3 separate regions of the Homo sapiens genome follow, and all the other regions are linked to region 2. The links are contacts of gene promoters, found by promoter capture Hi-C in human tissues and cell types (Jung and others, 2019). All regions are on one chromosome and are shown on one strand. The core of a region is centred on a gene start or on the middle of the fragment in contact, and the rest is flanking DNA. Distances in the headings are between cores, read along the strand shown. Region 1 has its middle 67 kb from the start of PRLR. Region 2 holds the start of SPEF2 (sperm flagellar 2). Region 3 overlaps UGT3A2 (UDP glycosyltransferase family 3 member A2).

Region 1 (2,988 bases), core at 45-2,544, 320 kb after region 2:
AATTGAATTAAAAAATCAATAAAAAATTAACTAACAAATAATAACCTTTATTTGGAAATTTGAAAAACACACATAATTCTATTTAATTGATATTTAAAAAGACATCTTAGTAACATCTAAAAATAATTTTTAAAAAAATCACAAACAGAAAAATGTGTTCATTAAACCTAAAGCTGCACTTGGAGAGAGAAACTTACAGCCTATATGTTCACATCAGAAACGAATTCTCAAAATTAATGAGTTACAAACATCTCATAAAATAGTTTACAGAAAAAAACACAGGAGAATATATCCAAAGAAAGAGGGAAATAAAAATTAGAGGTAAGACCAGAAATTAGTGAAATTAAAAACACAGACATAACAGCGATATCAGCAATGCCAGAAATTGAATCTTTAAAAGCCCAGTAAAAGAGACAAACTTTGGAAATATTAATTAAGAGAAGAAAAAAAAAGGTTAAGCACAAGTAAACAGTGTTAGAAATGAAAAAGGGGACATGATAAAAGGTGCTATAGAAATTAACAGAAAATAAAAGAACATAGTGAAAGACTTTTGTCAGAAATGGATTAACTTTGGCTGAAATGGATAAATTTTTTGAAAAAAATACAACTTATTGAAATTCATTTAAAAAGAAATATTTCTACAATGTGTAAAAAAAATTGATTGGTAGGTAAAATCTTTCTCACACACACAAAATTACTAGGTCCACATAGCTTTACTGCCAGTCCTGTCATTCAAGAGACAGATAATTCCAGGCTTACACAAAATCTTCCTGAAAATAAAAAAGAAAAACAAAATCCCCCAAATCATGTTATGAGGCCAACCTAACCTTGTCATCAAATTCAAAGAGTAGTACAAGAAAGAAAATTACAAGGCCAGTCTCACTCATGAATACAGGTGGGAAAATTCTGCGTAAAATATCAGCACACCAAAACCAGTAATAATATGAAAGATAATTTTTCATGACCAATTGGGATTTGTCCTAGGAAAACAGGAAACTAATTATTTGTAATTCACTATGTTAAATTATTTGTAATTCACTGTATTAAATGGTTATTTTTTAAAGATATTTTAAAAAGCATTCAATAAAATGAAAATTCATTTGCAATAAAATCTCTCAGCACATTAGGAATTGGAGAGGTGCTCTTTATTTCCTTTTTGCCTTGCAGATCTATCCTCTGCCTACCTCTCCCTTGATCTGGCATCTGGGAGTCCAACCCCTAAGGGCTGCATCACTTAGGTGCCTTACCCTTAGCTGCATGTGAGCAAGAAATTCAAGGGTGGGAAGAGATGAGAAGAAAGTCAGGGTATTTCCTCCCTTCCCTGATGAATGCTGCAGCTCAGGCTATATAACTACAACTCCTACTAGACAGTCCCTTGTTCCAAGTCCAGCTCTCACTAGTATAGTAACAGCAGGTCTAGAAAAGATAAACAGCTTCCTATTACGTGCTTTACCATACGCTATTCATTGCCCTAGCTCTGTCTATGCCTATATAAATTTTCTTTCATTCAATACTCTTCAGAATTCCAGCTCATATGCTATTAACCTTTGTTACAGGTTGACTTGTATTCCGTCTTGAATTTGTATGTTGAAGTCCTAACCTCCAGGACCTCAGAATGTAACCATATTTGGAAATTAATAATTTAAAGAAGTAATTAAGTTAAAATGTGGTCTTTAGGACAGGCCCTAATCCAATATGACTGGTGTCTTTATAAGAAGAGATTAAGACATAGACACATACAGAGTACAGACTGAGGATACTAGCAGGAAGATGGTCTTCTACAAGCCAAGGAGAGAGGCCACAGAATAAAATTAACCCTGTCAACACCTTGATCTTGAACATCTCCACTCCAGAACAATAAGAAAACAAATTCCTGTTGTTTAAGTCATCCAGCCTGTGAAACTTTGTTTTGGCAGCACTAGCAAATTGATACAACTCATTAAAAGACATCTACAAAAAGACAAACAAGTAAAAAACAAAACAAGACACAGCAAACATAATTATTAACGATTAAATGTTAAAAGCATTTCCTTTAAGACTGGCAACAATGTAAAGATTCTATATATCACTAATTATATGGAGGTTCTAAAAAGTCTAGACAGTAAAACAAGAAGAAGGATTAGAGATATAAAAACAAAGCTATCATTATTTGCAGATTGTAAAATTGTCTACGTACAAAATTCAAAAATCTAAGGATAACTTATTAGAGTAAATAAGAGAGTTTAGTTAGTTTGCTTAATACAAAAGCAACGTACCAAAACTATTGGCATGTTTATATTCCAGCAATAATCATTTTAAAAAGGTAACTTTAAGTATTAGGTATTAATCCCAATAACAGTAACATGGTATACTTAGGAATAATTCTAACAAAAATACTCAAGGCCTGATAAAAAATATAAAATTTTGTAAAAGACAGTAGACAAATGAAAAGATATAAGCACCATGACCTTGATAGAAGGACTCAATATCATAAAATTATCAGTACTCTCTAAATAAATTCATAGCAGTTATGATCCATCTTGATAGATTGTTTCTTGAAAATTGCCAACCTGATCCTAAAATTAATATGAAAGAGATAAGACCCAAATTAGCCAATACACTTCTGCCAGCCACGAAGGCATATTATAAATCTACAGTTAAGATAGTGAGTCCCAACACAAGGTTGAATAAATAGAATCAATAGAATACAATATATCAGAAAAGCCAGAAACAAGCCCATGTAAAATGTAAATGATTTATGAAAAAATAATTGTGACCTACAGATAAGGGAGAAAATAATGGATTATAACAGCAAACAGTGCTGAAACAGTTGGGAACAATGTATAAAATCAATTCCATGTGGATTTAAGATTTAACATGAAAAAAACCCTACAGACTACACGGTACTATAATTAAAAATAGGGGAATATATATATATTTACTTTAGGGAAACATTTATTAAGAAACAAAAGGCCTAATCCACACAGAAAAATATTAATAAATTTTACT
Region 2 (3,234 bases), core at 383-2,882:
TGGCCAGGCTGGTCTCGAACTCCTGACCTCATGATCTGCCCACCTCGGCCTCCCAAAGGGCTGGCATTACAGGCGTGAGCCACCGCACCCGGCCCGGGTGTGGTTTTTACTAATAAAATAAATGAACTAAATTAAACTAAGCAATATGTAACTGCTTTTCTTTTAGAAGAGTACAACTTAAGGGCATGATATTTTATTTTGGCTCCTATGGTGAGACAGGAATAAGAAACAATAAATGCTAAATATTGTCCTCAGTCCATCATATTTTAGCAAATAAACAGTTGGAGACACAATGGGATAATCGTAGAATACCAGGAAAGAATTTATTGCAGTTCACAGGGAGTGTGTAGATGGTTATTTGACAAAGAAAGAGTCTGAGGTTTATGCCTCAAGAAATGCAACAGGAGATGCTCCGTGCTAAAGATCCTCATGCTGAGAGTATTAATAACTACTTTGCACCCACAGAAACACTACCGATCTAGCAACTTCTGTAGATAAGCTAAGGTTGAACTGGCACCACTGCCTCTCTGGTAGCAAGCTGGTGTTAAGCAAGTTCTTCTGGGAAAATGGACTGAAATGACTTGCCCTGAAAACCTCTTCCCTTAAGCAAAAAAAGAAAAAAAGACAAACAAAACCAACTGAAAAATGAACTCCTGAAGAATTACAGGGCAGTCAAGGAAGCTGCCAGCATGTAAAATTGTCTCTGTGGTTGTCAGACTTGGAAACTTTGGGTGGCAACTGCATGGTTAGGATAAAATTAGGTTGGTGAATAAGGTCAGCTTTGGGCAAGAGCCAATAGTGACCAGAAATAGCTAGTTTGTGATTTGGGGCTTAAAATTTACTAAAATTTGTAAATGTTAACATATTCTACATTAACTTATTTTTCACCCACCCTCCCCTGCTGGTCAGTTAAGTATGGAAAGCATTATTAGGTCCATTTTATAGAGAAGGAAACACATTCAGAGAAGGTATTGTAACTTGTCCAGTGGCTTCATATTTCATCGACTAGCCACCACACCATGCTTCTGCTTCTGGTGATGTGAAGGAGGCATCGTTGGGGTCAGACTACAAAGTCCAGCAAAGTTCCCTCTCCACAGAAGCAAAGGAGACCTTCCTAAACCCTCTGATTGCCTAGAACCACATCACAAAGTCAGAATGCCTGCGGGTTGGGCCCACCGTGACAAGGGTAACTCGAGAGCGGCAGAGTGGGGACGTGACAAGGCCTTGCCCTGGCTGGGGTGAGCTGTAGGGAGGTGGCGGGACGGACCTGGGGCACCGCCGAGCCGAGTTGCTCACTGTGGGATGCTGCCGGCTACGCAGGTGCCCCACCTGTGCAGCTCGCGCCCTGCCCGCCACCTTCCCTGAGTGCGCTGCGCTGCGCTGCAGGCTCTGCGCCCCGCTAGCCCCTCAGACGCTCGCCCCTGGCCGTGGTCACTCACTCACGGTCCGGGACACCTTCAACTCCTTGTTGAGCCACTGGCACAGGATCTCCGACATGGTTCAGCCGGTGCCTCAGACCGCAGGCGGGGGCTTAGAAACTCGCCAGGAACCAAGCCTGCCAGCCCGCGTCCTCCTGTAGCCAAGGGCAACCCTTTGCTATGGAAGCGTATCCAGGCTGGAACTAGGCGAAAGGCCTTAGAGAAGAGGGGACGCTAGGGCTCAGCCGCAGAGGACAGAAAATCGTGTTTCGCCACCTGCTGGCGGGTAAGACCTGAGCGTGCGCCAGCGCAGGAGGAAGCCGTTGGGGGCCTGTGAGAGAAGTTAGGGAGCAGTGGGTGTGGGGAGAGGCGAGGCGGGAACACTTAGGGACACAGCAGGAGCTTCTTAGGTGAGCAGAAAGTAAAACCAGAGTCTCCGCAGGGCTCCGTGGCTCACGCAAATAATCCTACCACTTTGTGGAGGGGGTGGCGCTCGACTGAGCCTGGGAGTTCAAGACCAGCCTGGGCAAGGTAGCAGAAACCGTTTTTTTTTCTGTAAGAAATTAGGCGGCCGTGGTGGCGTGCGCCTGTGGTCCCACCAGCTCAGGATGCTGACGTGGAAGGATCAACCCAGGAGGCGGAGTTTACAGTGAACCGAGATCGAGCCACTGCACTCCAGCCTGGGCAACAAAATGAGACTCTGTCTCAAAAAAGAAGAAGAAAGAAGAAAGAATAACAAGAAGGAGAAGGAGAGGGAGAGGAAGAGGAGGAGGAGAAGAGGAAGAACAGGAGGAAAAGAAGAAAGAGAAGGAGAAGAAGGAGAACAAGGAGAAGGAGGAGAACAAGGAGAGATCAAAGAAGAGGAAGAAGAAGAAAAAAGAAGAGGAAGAAAAAGAAGAAGGGTATTTGGGGTATCCATCACCTTGAGTATTTATCATTTATATACGTTGGTAACATTTCAAATCTTCTCTTCTAGCTATTTTGAAATATACAATGTATCATTGCTAACTATAGTCACCCCAGTTGCTAGCTAACATTAGACCCTATTTCTTCCATCTAACTATAAGTTTGTACCCATTCACCAACCTCTCTTCATTTCCCCTTCCCACCCTCACATCCTTTCCAGTCTCTGGTACTCATAATTTTGTTCTCTATCTCCAGGGGATCAACTTTTTTAGCTACCACATATGAGTAAAACATGCAGTATTTGTCTTTCTGTTGCCTGGCCTATTTCATTGAACATAATGGCCTCCAGTTCATCCATGTTGCTGCAAATGACCTGTTTTCATTCTTTTCCATGGACAAATGGTATTCCGTTATGTATATATACCATTCTTTCTTTTTCCATTTGTTCGCTGATGGACACTTAGATTTATTCCATATCTTGGCTATTTTGAATAGTTCTGTGATAAACATGTGAGTGCAGGTATCCCTTTGATATACTGACTTCTTTTCCTTTGGATAGATACACTGTAGTGGAACTGCTGGATTTTATGGCAGTTCTGTTTTTAGTTTTTTGAGAAACCTCCATACTGCCTTCCATAGTGGTCATACTAATTTACATCCCCACCAACAGTATGAGTTCCCTTTTCTCCACATCTTCTCCAGCATCTGTTGTTTTTTGTCTTTTTAATAATAACCATTCTAACTGGGGTAAGATGGTATTTTATTGTGGTTTTGATATGCATTTGATAATTAGAGATGATGAATTTTTTCATATACCTGTTGGCCATTTGTACCTCTTCTTTTGAGAAATGTCTATCCGTGTCCTTTGCACACTTTTTAGTGGGATTGTTTGTTTTTTTAGTGTTGAGTT
Region 3 (3,058 bases), core at 133-2,632, 440 kb before region 2:
TTGAGGGGATATTACTATAAGGCAGCCAGCCAGATAAAAGATTTTAATGGTCCACATTACAGAGGCAACATATTAAAAGGATGATGAGGTGAACATCTAGACACTAGCTGGTGGTCTTGCTCTTCTAAAAGTCAGTGGATCCTAGGCCGGGCACAGTGGCTCACACCTGTAATCCCAGCACTTTGGGAGGCTGATGCAGGCGGATCACCTGAGGTCAGGTGTTTCAGACCAGCCTGGCCAACATGGTGCAACCCTGTCTCTACTAAAATACAAAAATTAGCCAGGCATGGTGGCTCGTGCCTGTAATCCCAGCTACTCAGAGGACCGAGGCACATGAATCGTTTGAACCTGGGAGGCAGAGGTTGCAGTGAGCCAAGATTGTGCCATGCACTCCAGCCTGGGTGGGTGACAGAACGAGACTCTGTCTAAAAAAAGAAAAAAAAAAACAAACTGCAGAGCAGCCTCTTGTTTAGTGGAATGAATTACTATGACATACCCACGAGGGTCACAAGGTACCCCCCCAAATTTTTTTTTTTGAGATGAAGTCTTGCTCTTGTCATGCAGGCTGGAGTGCCATGGTGTGATCTCAGCTCACTGCAACCTCCTCCTCCCAGGTTTAAGCGATTCTCCTGCCTCAGCCTCCCGGTACCCAAGAATTTTATACCTTCAGAAGTACTGCCAATTTGGACTAAAAGGTATGAGGAGAATATGACAGGGAGGAGAATATGACAGGAAGGAGGGCTGTTGAACTCCCCAGATTCTGCAAGTAGGAAATAAACTGACAAACCACTCAGCTGTAACCACATGCAACGATTCATGAAAAACGAAGGAAAACTCTGAAGGTGAAGCAATGAGCCCAGATGGCAGAGCTTCTAGCCCAGAAGGCTGAGCCAAACCACAGGATTATTTCCAGTCCTTAAAACCTAATTTTGTTTGCCCAGTTGGAGTCAAAATGTCTTGGGACTGGCACCTCATTTTTTTTTTTACTTTCTTTTTGCCCCCATTAGAATAATGTCTATAATTGGTATCCTATGCCTGTCCCACTATTGGTTTTGGGGAGCAGGTCATTTTTTCCTAGTTTCATAGATCCACAGAAGGAGAGCAATTTTGCCACTGAATGGATTACACCCAGACTCTCACCCACACTTGATGTAGATTATTTGGATGATGTGATTTGGGAATTCCGAGCTGATGAGCTTTAGATGAGATTTTTCACTTTGAATTGATAATATAATTGTTTGGGACTTTGGGGGATGTTGGGACAAGATGAATACATTTTCATTCCAAGAGGGGTGTATATGAATGTCTGGGATCTAGAGAACACTCTGTGGTAGGCAAATAATGCTCCCTCCCAAAGATATACATGTCTGAATTCCTATAATTATGAATGTGCTATTTTACATGTTCGAAAGGCAAAAGGATCTTTGCAGATGTGATTAATATAAGGATTTTGAGACAGGGAGACTATCATGGATTACCCAGGTGAATCCAGTTTAAATGCAAGAGTTCTTATAAGGCAAGCTTGTCTAACTCGTGGCCCACCAGCTGCATGTGGCCCAGGACAGCTTTGAATGTGGCCCAACACAAATTCATAAACTTTCTTAAAACATTATGAGATTGTTTTTGCAATTTCTTTTTAGCTCATTAGCTATCATTAGTGTTACTGTATTTTATGTGTGGCCCAAGACAATTCTTCTTCTTCCAATGTGGCCCAGGGAAGCCAATAGATTGGACACCCCTGTTATAAAGGAAAGAAGATGGTAGGAGAGTTAAAGAAGTGATGATGGAAGAAGAAATCAGAGTGATGTGATTGCCTGTTGGAAGGGGGCCATGAGCCAGGGATGCAGGTAGCCTTGAGAAGCTGGAAAAGGCAAGAAAATGGATCGTTCCCCAGAGCCTCCAGAAGAAATGCAGCTCTACCCACACCTTGATTTTATTCTAATGAGACCCATTTTGGACTTCTGATCTCCAGAACTATAAGACAATACCTTGTGTTGTGTTAAGCAACTAAGTTTGTTGTAATTTGTTAAAGCAGCAATAGGAAACTGAAACAGCCATGATAGGTGCTCAGAAGAACTCCAGGAGGCATGAAAGGAGGATGCTAAAGCCTTTACAGTGCAGGTGTCCCTGGCGGGCACTAATGAGAGAGCCTGTTGTATTGCAACTTGGACAGATTCTAGAGCCTTCTGTTACAGGGGTTCCTATGCAATGTGGGCTGATTTTCAAGTAATAAACATGAGTGGACCTAAGTAAAATTTATAAATAAGGAATATGTTGTCTTTAAAGTGTAAAAAAGGCCTAAAAGATGTTGGGCTTGTAACATTATGGGCACAGAGATGCTCAATAATTGTTTCTTAATAGTATTGGGGATGGAGAGGTCTTCAACTAACCAAATGATCCTTTGGAATTTAAGTGAGGGACTGGGTCTGATACTTTGCATGGGACAATGGCTTATCCCCTTTGTGAGCTCCTTTTTGAATGTTTCTATGTCTTAAATGAGTGTGGCAAATGAATCTCCTCAGAGGAGGACACCCTCAATGTAATGTTATATCTGTACTCCTGGAGAAAGCTGGAAGCAGTGGCTCTTGCTGGCAAAGATTGTGGGCAATAGTAGGGCTGTTGAAGTATACTATGAGTAGCCATGCATTGTGTTTCTTCCAAGGTAAAGACACACTGTGGCTGAGAGCCTGTTAAAATCAGCATGGAAAAAAACATTCTAGCCAACTCTATGACTGCAAAGTATTTGCCAGTAGATACTTGGATAGAGTCTTTCATTTCAATTAGCTTGAGTATGAGGGCCTTAATATGTGGGGCTATCTGTTAACATACCCCCAATCCTTACACAAAATTTGATTTGGATGTGATGAAGGCACACATGCATTAAGAAGATATGAGAGGTTTATGACTCATAGGGTGAGGTATTTTTTTTTCTTTTTTTCAGAATAGCAGGACAGGCTCCCAGGCAAATCTGAAAAATGGCTTTAGAGAGCAGGGAGGGATGACTGGCTTGAGTTTTTACTGTGAGGAGGGGTAGGATGGGCTGAGGATTTCCTTTCAT

The links. Contacts are between HindIII fragments. The study calls those that stand out against the background at their distance.
Region 1: a fragment that was not itself captured here is called in contact with the fragment with the promoter of SPEF2 in region 2 in 1 of the 25 tissues and cell types used here (hippocampus).
Region 3: a contact is called between a fragment that was not itself captured here and the fragment with the promoter of SPEF2 in region 2, in 1 of the 25 tissues and cell types used here (liver).

Annotation. Positions count from the first base shown.
Region 1 is chr5:35,296,364-35,299,351 of GRCh38, reverse strand. No RefSeq gene overlaps it. Among named protein-coding and RNA genes, the nearest start is that of PRLR, 67 kb to the right of the region's middle. The HindIII fragment of the contact is 7,725 bases long and covers 1-2,988 here.
Region 2 is chr5:35,616,261-35,619,494 of GRCh38, reverse strand. SPEF2 (sperm flagellar 2) reads right to left here and starts at 1,632. Exons shown (of 37, transcript NM_024867.4): 1 at 1,440-1,632. The coding sequence starts at 1,497. RefSeq lists an enhancer at 782-1,589. The HindIII fragment of the contact is 9,985 bases long and covers 1-3,234 here.
Region 3 is chr5:36,052,618-36,055,675 of GRCh38, reverse strand. All of the region lies in intron 2 of UGT3A2 (UDP glycosyltransferase family 3 member A2), which reads left to right. Among named protein-coding and RNA genes, the nearest start is that of UGT3A2, 13 kb to the left of the region's middle. The HindIII fragment of the contact is 9,095 bases long and covers 1-3,058 here.